2 separate regions of the Homo sapiens genome follow, and region 2 is linked to region 1. Evidence: promoter capture Hi-C in 16 types of primary human blood cells and fetal thymus (Javierre and others, 2016). All regions are on one chromosome and are shown on one strand. The core of a region is centred on a gene start or on the middle of the fragment in contact, and the rest is flanking DNA. Distances in the headings are between cores, read along the strand shown.

What was found. Contacts are between HindIII fragments. The CHiCAGO score rates a contact against its expected background, and 5 or more counts as called.
Region 2: a contact is called between a fragment that was not itself captured here and the fragment with the promoter of CHST7 in region 1, in 7 of 17 cell types (M1 macrophages, M0 macrophages, M2 macrophages and 4 more). The highest score is 7.4, in M1 macrophages.

The regions. Positions count from the first base shown.
Region 1 is chrX:46,570,405-46,577,532 of GRCh38, reverse strand. CHST7 (carbohydrate sulfotransferase 7) reads right to left here and starts at 3,768. Exons shown (of 2, transcript NM_019886.4): 1 at 2,110-3,768. The coding sequence starts at 3,601. The coding sequence ends at 2,141. RefSeq lists silencers at 2,521-2,580, 2,701-2,750. The HindIII fragment of the contact is 5,347 bases long and covers 192-5,538 here.
Region 2 is chrX:46,788,394-46,795,521 of GRCh38, reverse strand. No RefSeq gene overlaps it. Among named protein-coding and RNA genes, the nearest start is that of SLC9A7, 33 kb to the right of the region's middle. The HindIII fragment of the contact is 1,843 bases long and covers 3,191-5,033 here.

The sequences.
Region 1 (7,128 bases), core at 2,519-5,018:
CCCCCTCTCTTCTCCTCCCTTCTCTAGAATAGAGTGTGACAAACTTTTGGAAAACCCATCAGTGAGTCGGCAGTAACGTTATCTTCCTAGGAACCAAGAATACAAGCACTGTAATCAACCCACTGATTGGTGGTAAGTGCCCAATGCGGGAGGAAGGACTCAGTCACTAAAGTCTGGAAGAGCCTAAAGCTTGCTCCCAGATGTCCCTGCAGCCCTGCAAAGGAAGCCCCATCGGCCTTCCAAACAGCAACACCAGTGTCTTCCCTCACAGTCACTGTCACCCACACAGACTCTAACCTCCTAGAGGGCAAAGACTGTCCTCTACCCTCCTCTCTATTCTCTTTAATGCTTCACCCCAGCCAGTACTCAAATAGATGTTAGTAAAAATGAAAAAAAAAAAAAAAAAAAAGCAAAAGTTTCTGGGAGATTGTCATGTCTTAAAGCCATAAAATGCACAGCATTCCGCCCAGGGGAGGAGTTCCCTCAGGCCTGTGAAGAAGGGTTAGGGACAATTACTGTTATATCTGTAAATACAGGATCAGCAGATGAAAGGATGTTTTTGTTAAGATGTGACAAGTCACCCTGTGCCTTACCTTCCATCACTCTGGAAATCAGGAAAGAACACAGACTTCCTAGCAATTTCAGAAACTGACTAAGAAAACCATTTGATTACTGGGAGAAAAATTAGTTAGCCAGCTTCTGAAATCACTCTGAAACCCTGGTTCTGTAACAACAACAAAATCCCTCTTCATTAATATCTTCAACGTTTGTCCTCAGAGCTTCATCTCAGGGGAATGCTGAATTACACTATAAAATAATGAATGGAAACTTAACTCACTTCCGCCCACCCAGCACTACTTTTCCTCCTCCTCTGGACTGACTGCACAGTGCAGAAGGCGGCACCCTTCCAACTCACATAAAGTTTGGGGAAACACACTCCCATGTCACTAAGTAGACTCCTATGGTCAGCACTGTGCAGAACAAACCCTTCCCTCAGGCCATACACTGACCCACACAGAACACATTTTGAGACTGTTTAAGCCCCACTTTAGCATCTTCAGATATACAGAAAAAAACAAAAAACAAAAATGGAAAAACAAAAAAGAGGGGGCAGTGTCTTTTCACAAAGCTCCTCCTGCAGTCACAAACTGCTACTGCCAATTGAAGGCTCCATCTGTCAAACGGATGGGGTGGAGTGGGGGACACCCAACCCTGAGGTCTTGTCGACACTAGAGGAAGCTGACCAGGCAGCTTTTGTGACCTGATGTGAATGGGATATGGTCAAATATCCTGCAAACGCCAGCTACAGGGAGAAGGGGGAAGGGAGAGGAGGAGGGGAAGGGGGAGGAAGAGGAAGAGAGGGAGAGGGGAAATGAGAGAGGGAAGGAGGGGGAGGGGAGACAGAGAGGCGCACATGAGCCAGGGGAAAGCAAGTCTATTCACTACACAAGCGCCTGAGACACACAATGTGCAAGAAGTGTTGCAAGAGCCGCTGGACTGTGCCTGCATGTTTGGAAATTCAGGAGAAAAGCCCTGGAGCCTGCGCATAAAACAGACAGAGAAGAAACATGAAACAGAAAGATTAGGGATAGGTAGGGTTAGAATCAATGCCTTTCCACCAAACTCTCTGCTTTTGGCTTTCTCTGTGCCTGTAAACACCATTGCAAAGTCTCCTCACAGGACAAACTGGCATCAAGATAACTCCATAATCATCAACCTCAAATGGTTTCCGAAATCCTATACTCCACATGTCAATTCCCAGTCTCACGGCTCATTATGACTGTTTCAAACCTTCTCTACTCTCCTCAGCCCTCTGAAACCTCCTACTTCATACAGGGGAATGGGAATGCAGAGACCTGGCTTCCACCTCAGTCACGCCTAAATATCCTCTCTCATCTCAGGATCTCCCTCTAAGGAGGCGCGAGGCTAAGCTGGAGATTCCGATGAATCTACCAAATTCTACGAGCAGGACTTTCCCATCCTCTTGGACCTGATCTGATAGAATGGGATCCAGCATGGTACCCTCCCCCCTACACTTCCCCCTCCCCAGGCCATTCCAGGCTCCCGGAAGACCAGTCCCGGTCCCTGCCTTGCCCCGGGCCACCTTACCCGGATCCGTGCCGGGGACAGGGATGGGAGGCTACGTGGCGCCGTCGGCATCCATCTCCAGCGGCGTCTCCCCTTCCCTGGGCTGCTCCGCGTCGCCCTCCTCTCCGCTGCGAGGGTAGGCGAGCAGACGCATGGCTGGAGCGCAGGCGGCCTCCACCTGGCGCACCTGCTCTCGGCTCAGGCGCTCGCGCCAGGCGTGCACCGCCTCCCGGGCGTCGCGCGCTGACAGGTGGAAGGGCCGGTCGGCGCCGTAGGCCGCGCCGCGAGTCATGTTGAGCGCGAAGGCATCGAGCGCTGCGAGCGCGCGTAGCCCGGAGAAGCGCAGCAGGCGGCGCAGCTGGGCGCGTGGCTGCCGCACCAGGTCCTCATAGCGCAGCCTCAGGTAGCGGCGCCGCAGCCAGGCGGGCGCGCCGCGCGCGAAAAGCAGATCGCGCAGCCAGGCTTCGCAGATCACCTCGAGCGCACCGGTCAGGAAGAAATCGGCGCGCGGCGCGGCGGGCAGCGCGCGAGACTGGCCCCCGGGGCGAGCACCCACGCCGTGCGCCAGCAGCACACGGTGGAAGCGGTCGCCCCTCTGGCGGGTGCGCAGCACCTGGATGCTCTCGCGCAGCAGTCCCTGCCTAGACTTGAGGCGCGAGTTGTGCACCGCCCTCGGGTCGCGGAAAAGCTGCACCACCTTCAGGTTGAGGCCTGGATCACGCAACAGGGGCACCAGCACGCCCAGATCGAGCAGGCGCACGTCCTTGATGACCACCACCGGGTACTTTCGGCACTCGGCCTCCAGGGCGCGTATCGCCACGGGTGGGCAGCTGCGCTCGCAGGCGGTGTCCTCGACGAGGCCCACCTCGGCCCGGGCACGGGGTGCGCCAGGACACAGTGGCGGCGAGCAGATGACCTTGTTAGTCCGCCAGCGGAAGAGGGCGGCCGTGGTAAGATTGGCCGTGTCCGGGGCGCGCGCAGCGGGGTCCCCCGGCGGCGCGTACAGCCGCAGCACGGAGAAGTCGCAGCGGAAGAGCGAACGCAGCATGTCGCGCAGCGCGCCCTGCAAGCTCTCGGCGTCGCCCGGATACAGCGCCTGCCATAGATGCCACATGGGCTCATACAAGTAGAAAACGTCCGGGTGCTGGTTAAAGAGTTCGCCCAGGAAGGACGAGCCGGTGCGCCAGGTGGCATGCACGTAGATGTGCTGCTTCTCGCGAGACACTGCCTCCCCGACAGCGCCGCTGAGGTTGCTTGGGAACCGAGGAGACTGGTTCGCGCCCCCTTCCTCGGCGGCCCGCGCCTCCGCTCCCTGCTCGCGTTCGCCGGCCGCCGCCGCCTCCAGGCTCCACACTCCCAGGCTGCGCTGCAGGCCGGGGCAGTGCTCGGCGCCCTTGTCCCCGTCGCGGCCGCCGTCCAATACGGAGGGGACGAGCAACAGCACCAGCGTGTACAGCACCAACAGCAGCGCGAACTTGCAGTACTCTCGGCGTCGCCGCCGCCGGCCCTTCATCGTTCACCGACCCTCCAGAGCGGGTCGGGCGCCAGTCTTCTCCCGTTCCTCAGAAATCCCGTGCCAGGTCCGCTCCTGTGGCCTCTCCCGGCCCCTCTGCGCCGGGAGGAGCAGAGCCGCGGGGCCGCGCATCCACAAGGGGAAACTTGGAAGGCGGTGGTGCTACTGACGGCGCCCCTGCCCTCTCGGCTTAGCAGCCGGAGAGCCGCCTATTGGCCGGCTTGGCAGCCGCCCGCCCCGCCTTTCTGCCCGCCTGGGTTCGCCCACGGCTCTGCCAGATCTGGGCGGGGCTGTAGCGGGGCTGGGACGCCGGCTTACCCAGCCAGACCCCCACCTTTCCCCAAACCCTCCGTAATGAAGTCTTCATCAATGACTTCAGGCAAAGGAGGGGCCTGTGTGTACAGAATGTACCCAGTAAAGGGCCATAGACCCCACCCGGAGAAGGTCACTGCCTCTTCTGTTTTATGTCCCCTGCCTAGCCATCGCTATCCTAGGCAGATAAACACTCGCCACTATACATCCAGCGCCCCCATCAGCCCTGGAGTGGGTGTTACTGAGTTCCGGACTGAAAGATAGAAGATTGTACGTGGCAGAGCGGTCCAGGGGGGTTGGAGATACTACTGCATCCACGCAGCACATTTCATAAAGTCTAGCCTTTGTGAAATTCTAAGTGTTGTGTTCCTTAGGGTTTCACCAGCTGATGGGCTCTGCACATTTTACCAATACTCTGGGGCCCAGTTTGGTCATTTGTAAAATGTGAATAATTCTTAGTACCCATGTACCTCCTGGGATTGCGAGATTTGGGGGTTGTTACCACAGTATAACCCAGCCTATTCTGACACCTATGAGCAAAAGACATTTACAGAATCAAAGTGGTAGAATGGTGACCTTTCTCAGGAGCTCGGTGTTTAAAAGGACCCGTAAGAAGAAATGTGTACCCAAAGATAGATGAAAAAGAGACAGGAAGTCCAACAGGCAGATGAAGACTAGAGTTACTAAAATTCAAAACAGAACCAAAAAAGATACATTTTGCTCTGTTTCATCAGGCTAATGAATAAGGAAGTGAGAGCTTCCTTTCACCAGCTTGGGGAAGGTGTTGTAAAGTTAATAAAACATAGAAAGCATATCTACTTATCTCCACCAGGGGAAGGTGTTCAAATTGGAAGAGTGAGAACATATGCAATGCTCTCCACTGGTCTTTTTCATCACGGAAGCTACTCCACCTGTGAAACCACTGACTCAAGCATTTCGTTTTCTTTCCACAATTCCCCTCTTCTTCCAGCCAGTTGTTCAAATCTTCCCTATTCTCCAACCTCCACTTTTTGACCACCACCCCCACTTTCTTCTCAATTTTTCATATTCAGCTGAAAGATGCCATACCATTATTTTAATAACACTCCCTCCAATAAGCTAAACTCACGTGCCCTCTGCCTTTTCATTACTCATCTAGCAAAATCCCCCAAACCCTGCTTTTGGCTTTCTCTGTGCCTGCAAACACCACTGCGAAACATTTCTCCACAGGTGTGAGCCAGGCACAGTGGCTCACGCCTGTAATCTCAGCACTTTGGGAGCCCACAGAACAGATCAGCATCAAGATAACCTCATAATCATCAACCTGAAATGGTTGCTGAAATCTTAGGTTCTTCATGTCACTTCCCAGTCTCCAGTTCCATTATGATGATTTCAAACCTTCTCTAGTCTCCTCAGACTTCTGATACCCCTCTTCCCCCACCCACCTCTTCTCAGCACATGACCTTACTGCCTACTTCATAAAGAAACCATGTTAGACGATCTCTCACTTTTCCACTACCAAACTCATATATGCATTGACCTCTGTACACATCTCGTTTATAGCAAGGATATGATTTTGCAATATTAATCTACAACTTTCCCTTCTGTTTTCACTTTTCCCTCCTCTCTGGCTTTTTTAAAAAGCTTTGAGACAGGGTCTGGCTCTGTCACCCAGGCTGGAGTGCGGTGGCACTATCACCACTCACTGCAGCCTCAACCTCTCAAGCCCAAGCGATCTTCCTACCTCAGCCTCCCAAGCAGCTGAGACCACAGGCATGTGGACCACACCCAGCTAATTTTGTTTGTTTGTTTGTTTTTTGTAGAGACCGGGGTCTGTATGTTGCCCAGGCTGGTCTTGAACTCGTGGGCTCAAGTGATCCTCCCACTTCGGCCTTGTGCTGGGATTACAGGCCTGAGCTACTGTGCCTGGCCTCCTCTCATCTTTTAAGCAAGTAGGTGGCTCTGTGCTGGTGTGAGGGGAGAGGTGTGGCTGGGCAGAATGCAAATAGTTGCTGGTGTTTCCCGCTTCCCCCCACCCCCCGCCCTCCGCTCCAAAAGCCTCAACTCTGATAGTGGAAAGTGTGATAGGTTTTTTAAATAACCACAAAGTATTCCCCTCCTCTGTTTTGCCTTTGGGCAATGCCTTCCCATACTGACTCTGGGATGACCATGTGGCTTGCATTGGCCTGTGGGACAGTAGCAAACATGACACAGCAAAGGTTTGAAAAATACTCCTGCTGTGGGAATTGCCCTCATCCTGCTCTTTGGAACCCTGAGATCGGCTCGTGAAGAAGCCTGGGTTAGCAACATGGCTCAGAAAATAAGCCCTCCCAGCTGAGGCCCCCCACCCCCCAGACAAACAAGCCTGCTGACCGCCAGACAGGTGAGAAAGGAGATAGATCCTCGACCAGTGCTTCTCAAACTTTAATGCTTGAAGGCTCCTGTCAAAATGCAGAAAGTGGGCCTGGCCCAGTGGCTCACACCTGTAATCCCAACGCTTTGGGAGGCCGACGCGGGTGGGTATCCTGAGCCTAGGAGTTCAAGACCAGCCTGGGCAACATGGTGAAACCCCGTCTCTACCAAAAACACAAAAAAAGTTAACCAAGCATGGTGGCGTGCACCTGTAGTCCCAACTACTTGGAAGGCTGAGGCGGGAGGATCACTTGAGCCCAGGAGGTGGAGATTGTAGTGAGCCGAGGTCATGCCACTGCACTCCAACCTGGGTGACAGAGTGAGACCTCATCTCAAAAAAAAAAAAAAAGCAGAAAATGATTCATTACACCTAGGGTGGGGCCAGAGAGACTACATTTCTTTTCTTTCTTCTTCTCCTTCTTCTTTCTTCTTTCTTCTTCTTTTTTTAAATAGACAGGGTCTTCTCTCCCTCTGTCACCCAGGCTGGTGGAAGGCTGGAGTGCAGTGGCGTGATCATAGCTCACTGCAGCTTCAACTTCCTGGGTTCAAGCAATCCTTCTCATGCCTGGCTAATTAAAAAAAATTTTTTTTTAGGCTGGGCGCGGTGGCTCACGCCTGTAATCCCAGCACTTTGGGAGGCCAAGGCAGGCGGATCACGAGGTCAGGAGTTGGAGACCAGCCTGGCCAATATGGTGAAACCCCATCTATACTAAAAATACAAAAATTAGCCAGGTGTGGTGGCACATGCCTGTAGTCCCAGCTACTCGGGAGGCTGAGGCAGAAGAATCACTTGAACCCGGGAGGCAGAGGTTGCAGTGAGCCAA
Region 2 (7,128 bases), core at 2,863-5,362, 220 kb before region 1:
TGTATGATCCCACTTATATGATGTACCTAGAGTAGTCAAATTCATAGAGACAGAAAGTAGAAGGTGGTTACCAAGAGCTGAGGGGAAGGGAAAATGGAGAGTTGGTGTTTAATGGATAATGGATATACAGTTTTAGTTGTTTTTTGTTTTCGTTTTTTTTTTGAGATGGAGTCTTGCTCTTGTTGCCCAGGCTGGAGTACAGTGGCGTGATCTCGGCTCACTGCAACCTCCACCTCCTGGGTTCAAGTGATTCTCCTATCTCAGCCTCCCGAGTAGCTGGGATTGCAGGCGCCCGCCACCACACCCAGCTAATTTTTGTATTTTTAGTAGAGACAGGGTTTTGCCACATTGGCCAGGCTGGTCTTGAACTCCTGACCTCAAGTGATCCACCTGCCTCAGCCTCCCAAAGTGCTGGAATTACAGGCATGTGCCACCGCACCTGGCCTTACAATTTTCGTTTTGCAGGATGAAAATGTTCTGGAGATTGGATGCACAACAATGTGAATATATTTATCGATACTGAACTATATCCTTATAAAGAAATGATTAGGATAGTACATGTTGGTAGGGGTGGTGGCTCAGGCCTTTAATCACAACACTTTGGGAGGCTGAGGCAGAAGGGTCACTTGAGCCCAGGAAGTCAAGACCACCCTGGACAACATAGTGAGGCGAGGTGTCTCACACCTGTAATTGCAGCACTTTGGGAGGCCGAGGTAGGTGGATCACAAGGTCAGGAGTTCGAGACCAGACAGGCCAACATAGTGAAACCCTGTTTCTACTAAAAATACAAAAATTAGCTGGGCGTGGTGGCGGGCACCTGTAGTCCCAGCTACTTGGGAGGCTGAGGCAGGAGAATCGCTTGAATCCGGGAAGCAGAGGGTTGCAATGAGCCGAGATTGCACCACTGTACTCCAGCCTGGGTGACAGAGCAAGACTCAGTCTCAAATAGAGATAATAATCATATTTTTTTTTAATTAGCCAGGCATGGTAGTGCGTGCCTGTGGTCCCAGCTACTCAGGAGGCTGAGGCAGGAGGATACCTTGAGCCCAGGAGATCAAGACTACTGTGAGTCATGATCGTGTCACTGCACTGCTGCACCTGGGTGACAGGGTGAGACCTTGTCTCAAAAAAAAAAAAAAGTACATTTTATGTTAAGTGTGTTTTACCACAAAAAAAAAAACAAAAAACTCTCCAGCCCAGCCTGACCAACATGGTGAAACCCCGTCTCTACTAAAAGTACAAAAATTAGCCAGGCGTGGTGGCGCGTGCTTGTAATCCCAGCTACTCAGGAGGCTGAGGCAGGAGAATCACTTGAACCAGGGAGGCGGAGGCTGCAGTGAGCCGAGATTGCACCACTGCACTCCAGCCTGGGTGACAGATCGAGACTCTGTCTCAAAAAAAAAAAAAAAAAGAAGAAGAATTAGATTCCATTCCAGGCAATGTGGTAGAACAGGACGCAACATCAAATTAGTATAAATAATAATAATACCTCACATTTAAATGGCACTTTACAATTTACACAGTTCTATTGTGAAATACCTTACCTTGTTAAGTTCTCCTAGCAACTAGGATGGAGTGGGGTGGGTCTCTGTGTTCAAAGTGCATAGGCTATAGGAAGGGTGATTAGGAAAGTGGAGGATGAGTGGGCTAACAAGGCATAGAGAGACAAATGCTAGAATTGATGAGTGAATACAGAAGAAATGGAATAGAAAGATGCAAAACAACCAGCTCATGATCTACCTGATTCCTCTGTTTTTCCTTGGATGTGATAGGGGGTAACCATACTCTTGTGTATTCAAATGTTTCCTACTGTTTCTAGGCCCCGTTTTTCATAAGCTCTGTTCCAAGAAGCAGTACTGCTTCCTAGTCAAAGGTGCCCCAGTGTTCAAAGTTTGGCCCTACCCCTTCCTGATTACATGATCTTGCGCAGGTTACTATCTCTCGGCTTTAGTTCTCTATGTGATAATAATAGTTCCTGCCACCTCTAAGCCTTCAATACATATTTTCTCCATTTCATTTTCTCAGCCCTGTAACCTCAGGATCAAATGCTGCCTACTGACTGAAGTGACAAAGAATACCTTTTTGAGGTTTTTCTTCTTTCAACTTGTCCTACCATAGTATTATCGGGAAGATCCCCCAATATCATCCCCCAATATCATTAAGTAGGAAGAGAAATTGTTTGCAATATATAGGTTTCATGTTAAGTAAAAATTGTTGACGTCAAGGGTTTAGAAGAAAACAGTTTGACTGGAGTCAAAAGTCACTTTTCTTCTAAGTCACTTTTCAGAGGTGAGATGGAAACCTTGAGGTATGTTTCTGGCAAGTGATCTCCAACAATTTCTCTAAAGTATCTGATTAGAATAAGTAGGGAGACATTATAGGTAATAAGGTAGATATTTTCCTTAATCCAACCCCTAGAATTTAAACCATATTGAGCACCAGGAAAATTTCGCTCTGCAATTTCCCGAGGCATTTTACTTGTTACATTGGGTACATTATGACCTGTTGAAGATGGTGGTTTTCAGTTCCTTCCATTTAATGAGTCTTTACATTCTAATTAAAACCGAAAGTGGAATTCCTCACTTCTTCTGTTTGTTAATGATATAAATTATCTTAGCTGCTATGAAAATAAAAGGACTTCCTTCATTTGGATTGCTCAAACACTGATATTCACGCTCACTTGGAGGTATCTGGAAACATTATCTAAATGAGATTATTTTATCCAGAGAGAAAATTCTTAGCTTTAAAAGCTATTTAACTAAGATGGCTTGATATATTTTATGACTAACGCAACTGGGCCAACCTGTATCTTATGTTTAGTCAATGCAAAATGAAACAAAAATCCAGTGCCAACCAGATTAAATTGCAAAACATGCACACAGTATTTTGGATCAGGAACTAAACTTGTGTGGTTAATGACTAATTTCCTACATCCTCTGAGGCATCTACATGCTTGGATTTTTTTAGAATGGCTGGGCTTCATTTGTCACAAACTTGCCTCTTGAAGCAAAGCACACAGTAGACCTCCAAAAACTAGGCTTTAAATCTAGAAATTCTACTTTTTAATTCTTCCAAAGGAAGAATTTCTTTGAGTCATTTCCAGGTCCCTGCAGAGCCAAAAGACACACAGAACATATTCTATAAGCGTGCACAGGCTGTCCAGAGCATTTATCATTGCTCATAGTAAGCTTTGTATCCTGCGTGTTCTGGCTACCTAATTGCTTGGTAATAAATTACCCCAAAACTTCGAGGCTTACAATAACCACCTTATTATGCCCACTAATTTTGTGGGTCAGGAGTTCAGACAAAGCACACAGTGGGAGTCCATTGTCTCTGCTCCACGATGTTTAGGGCCTCAGCTGGGAAGACTTGATGACTGGGGTGACTCAGCGGCTGGGGGCTGGAACCACAAGGAAGTATCTCCATTTACGTGTCTGAATGTTGGCTGGGACCTCAGCTGAGAGTGCTGACTAGAACACCTCTATGTGACCTTTCCATATGGCCTGGACTGTCCCACAGCATGGTGGCCTCAGGATAATCCAACTTTTTACATGGTGAATTAGGGACTCAAAAGTCAAAGTCCCAGGGAAGAAGTCAGGAGCTGCCTCGCCTTTTCTGGCCTAGCTTTGGAAGTCATGCGGCATCATTTCTTCCTCTTTCTAGCGGCTACAAACCAGTCACAATCCTGTCCCAGTTCAAAGAAAAGGTGCATAAGCCACACTTCTCAATGGAAGAAGAATCAAAGAATTTGTGGACATATATTTATTTATTTATTTGAGACAGTCTTGCTCTGTCACCCAGGCTGGAGTGCAAGGGCATGATCTTGGCTCACTGCAACCTCCGCCTCCCAGCTTCAAGTGATTCTCCTGCCTCAGCCCCTCCCCCCACCCAGTAGCTGGGATTACAGGTGCCCACCACCACACCCAGCTAATTTTTGTATTTTTAGTAGAGACGGGGTTTCACCATGTTGGCCAGGCTGATCTCAAACTCCTGGCCTCAAGTGATCCGCCTGCCTGGGCTCCCAAAGTGCTGGGATTACAGGCGTGAGCCACCGCACCCGGCCTGTGGACATGTTTTTAAATTGCCACAACATGTTAAGCTCTATGTGTTTATAGCTGCAAAGTTATGTCATGATTCCCAAATAATAAATCAGACTGGACAAAAATGACGGAAAAAAAAGAACTCCAATCTCAGAGGTGACTGAAAGAAACACTGTAGAATTGCTGTCAGAGACTGAGCTTGGGGCCCTGCATTTAAGATTGATTCAGGAGGGCCGGGTGCAGTGGCCCATGCCTGTAATCCCAGTACTTTGGGAGACTGAGGTGGGTGGATCGTCTGAGCTCAGGAGTTTGACACCAGCCTGGGCAACATGGTGAAACCCCGTCTCTACTAAAAATACAAAAAATTAGCTGGATGTGGCAGTGTGCAGTTGTAGTCCCAGCTACTCAGGAGGCTGAGGCAGGAGAATCACTTGAACCCAGGATGCGGAGGCTGCAGTGAGCTGAGATTGCACCACTGCACTCCAGCCTGGGCGACAGAGTGAGACTCTGGCTCAAAAAAAAAAAATTGATTCAGGCAAACCTATAGGAGCAGGAACTTAAGCGTTTTAAAGGAACATAAGGTCTCCAAATTGCTGTCTGTGGTTAACACTGTCATCCACCTCTCAGGTCTCCCACCAAGGAGAAACTCGTCCCAGTTGCTAGGACAGCTATAGGTAGGCAGCCTTCAGCTCTTGGCCCTTTCAGAGATTGCCTCAGTTGCAGAGTCGCCCCGTTCAAGGTGATGACGCACCTCCTGGTGGCTCATATCCAGTGACTGATGGATGCGGGAATATAAGGCCTGGTCTTTTTGGCCCAGCCTTAGACAACTCTGAAGGGTCATTTTATTTCTATCGTTTCTCATGAGGCTGGTTGAGACCGTTGGGCCTATTTTGCAGCTTGACTTTTCTGTCTGACCTGTTCTCCATCCTTCCCTTTCCATTGCAGGTGTTGTCTGTAAGGACGCTCTTTAATAAATATCTTGCGAACTAAGCTTCGTCTCAGTGTCTGCTTCTTAGGGACCCAAATGTGTGACATTATCTGGACTCCTGAATTTTACCTCCATGTTATCTCCTACCAACTTTGCCCTTGACTGGGCCCAGTGTCTTGAATGCTCATACATTTTCTGCCTAGTCAGGTTGTCTCTCTGTGCTAGCTTAAGGTTTGATATGGCTTTACTCTCCATTCAGCTTTTATTGCATAGATTGAGCTTAGAGTCCAGTCTGATCATCCAACCCGTAATATGCTTTGGTATACACTTTGGGCGCTCAGTTTGGAGCACAATGCTCACCAACATTAAGTACTTACAGAAGACCAGGTCAGTAATTTAGGATAAGTTGACATGGAAGAAAAATGATCATAGTGTTTTAGACACTTTACTTATTTTACTTTATTTTTTTGAGACATGGTCTTACTCCTAACGCCCAGGCTGGAGTGCAGTGGCATGACCATGGCTCACTGCAGCCTTGACCTCCCTGGCTGAGGTGATCCTTCTACCCTCAGCATCTCGAGTGTCTGGGAGTATAGGCGCCCACCACCACACCCGGTTAATTTTTTGTATTTTTAGTAGAGATGGGGTTTCACAATGTTGCCCAGGCTGGTCTCAAACTCCTGACCTCAAGTGATCCACCTGCCTCGGCCTCCCAAAGTGTTGAGATTATAGGCGTGAACCACTGTGCCCAGCCTGTTTTAGACACTTTAGGAATCACATAGCCATAGGATTGAGGAAAGTCAAGAATTTGGTTCAGATGGAAAGAGAGAACATACAGATGATGACTGATCTAAAGCATATAAAAAGAAGTTAGCAGGCTGGGCAAGGTGGCTCACGCCTGTAATTCCAGCACTTTGGGAGGCTGAGGTGGGCAGATCACCTGAGGTCAGGAGTTCAAGACCAGCCTGCCCAACATGGCGAAACCCTGTCTCTACTAAAAATACAAAAAATTAGCTGGGCATGGTGGTGGGCACCTGTAATCCCAGCTACTCGGGAGACTGAGGCAGGAGAATTGCTTGAACCCTGGAGGTAGAGGTTGAAGTGAGTTGAGATCACACCACTGTACTCCAGCCTGGGTGACAAGAGCGAAACTCCATCAAAAAGAAAGAAGAAAAGAAAAAGAAAAAAGAAAAAAAGAAGAAGTTAGCATGGTCAGATACACAGCTAGAAATCAGTAAATATTTTCCAGTGACAGAGGAAGGTTTTTGACTCCAGATCCCCAAAACGACCTCACTAGTGGAAACACAGCTGTAAATAACAAGTCTGAGTGAGGTAAGGTCACATCCAGCTTTTGAAAGCTCAGCAATTTGGCGACAGAGAACAGTTCAGACCCTTAGGCATGAGCACAGCCCTTATTTCCCACCCACGGCTCAACTAAACCAGCCTAGCCTGGGCCAGATGCTTTTCAGAGCTTAGAGCTGTGAGATTGGAATGCAAATCAGTGGCCCATTCATCTATCTGTGTCTTAGACCAGCCCTAGAGCTAATCCTGAAAGGATGTGCTGGGAGAGTAATGATGATATCAAAGTGATGTGCAAGAATGAAGACTGAGGTCACAAAATGCATTGCGGCCAGGGAGGGTGCCAAAGATTAGAGCCTCGCACCATGATTTTAGTAGACTGGTTGCATTAATGTTCCCAATTATTCACTCCTCCTCCTGTATCTGTACCTTTGACACGTAACTTTGAAACTCCTTTGATCGAAGAGACAGAGTATATTTCTGTGCCCCTTGATTCTGAGGCTAGCCATGTAACTTTCTTTGGACAATGGGATGTTAGCAGATGTGATGCATGCAGAGGTGTTTTTTGTTTGTTTGTTTTTTGGTTTTTTTTGAGTCAGAGACTTGCTGTGTCACTCAGGCTGGAGTGCTGTGGTGCGATCTCGGTTCACTACAACCTTCGCCTCCTGGGTTCAAGCGGTTCTCCTGCCTCAGCCTCCCCAGTAGCTGGGATTACAGGTGCGTGCCACCATGCCCAGCTAATTTTTGTATTTTTAGTAGGGTTTTGCCATGTTGGCCAGGCTGGTCTCGAACTCCTGACCTCAGGTGATCAGCCCGCCTCAGCCTCCCAAAGTGCAGGGATTACAGGCGTGAGCCACCATG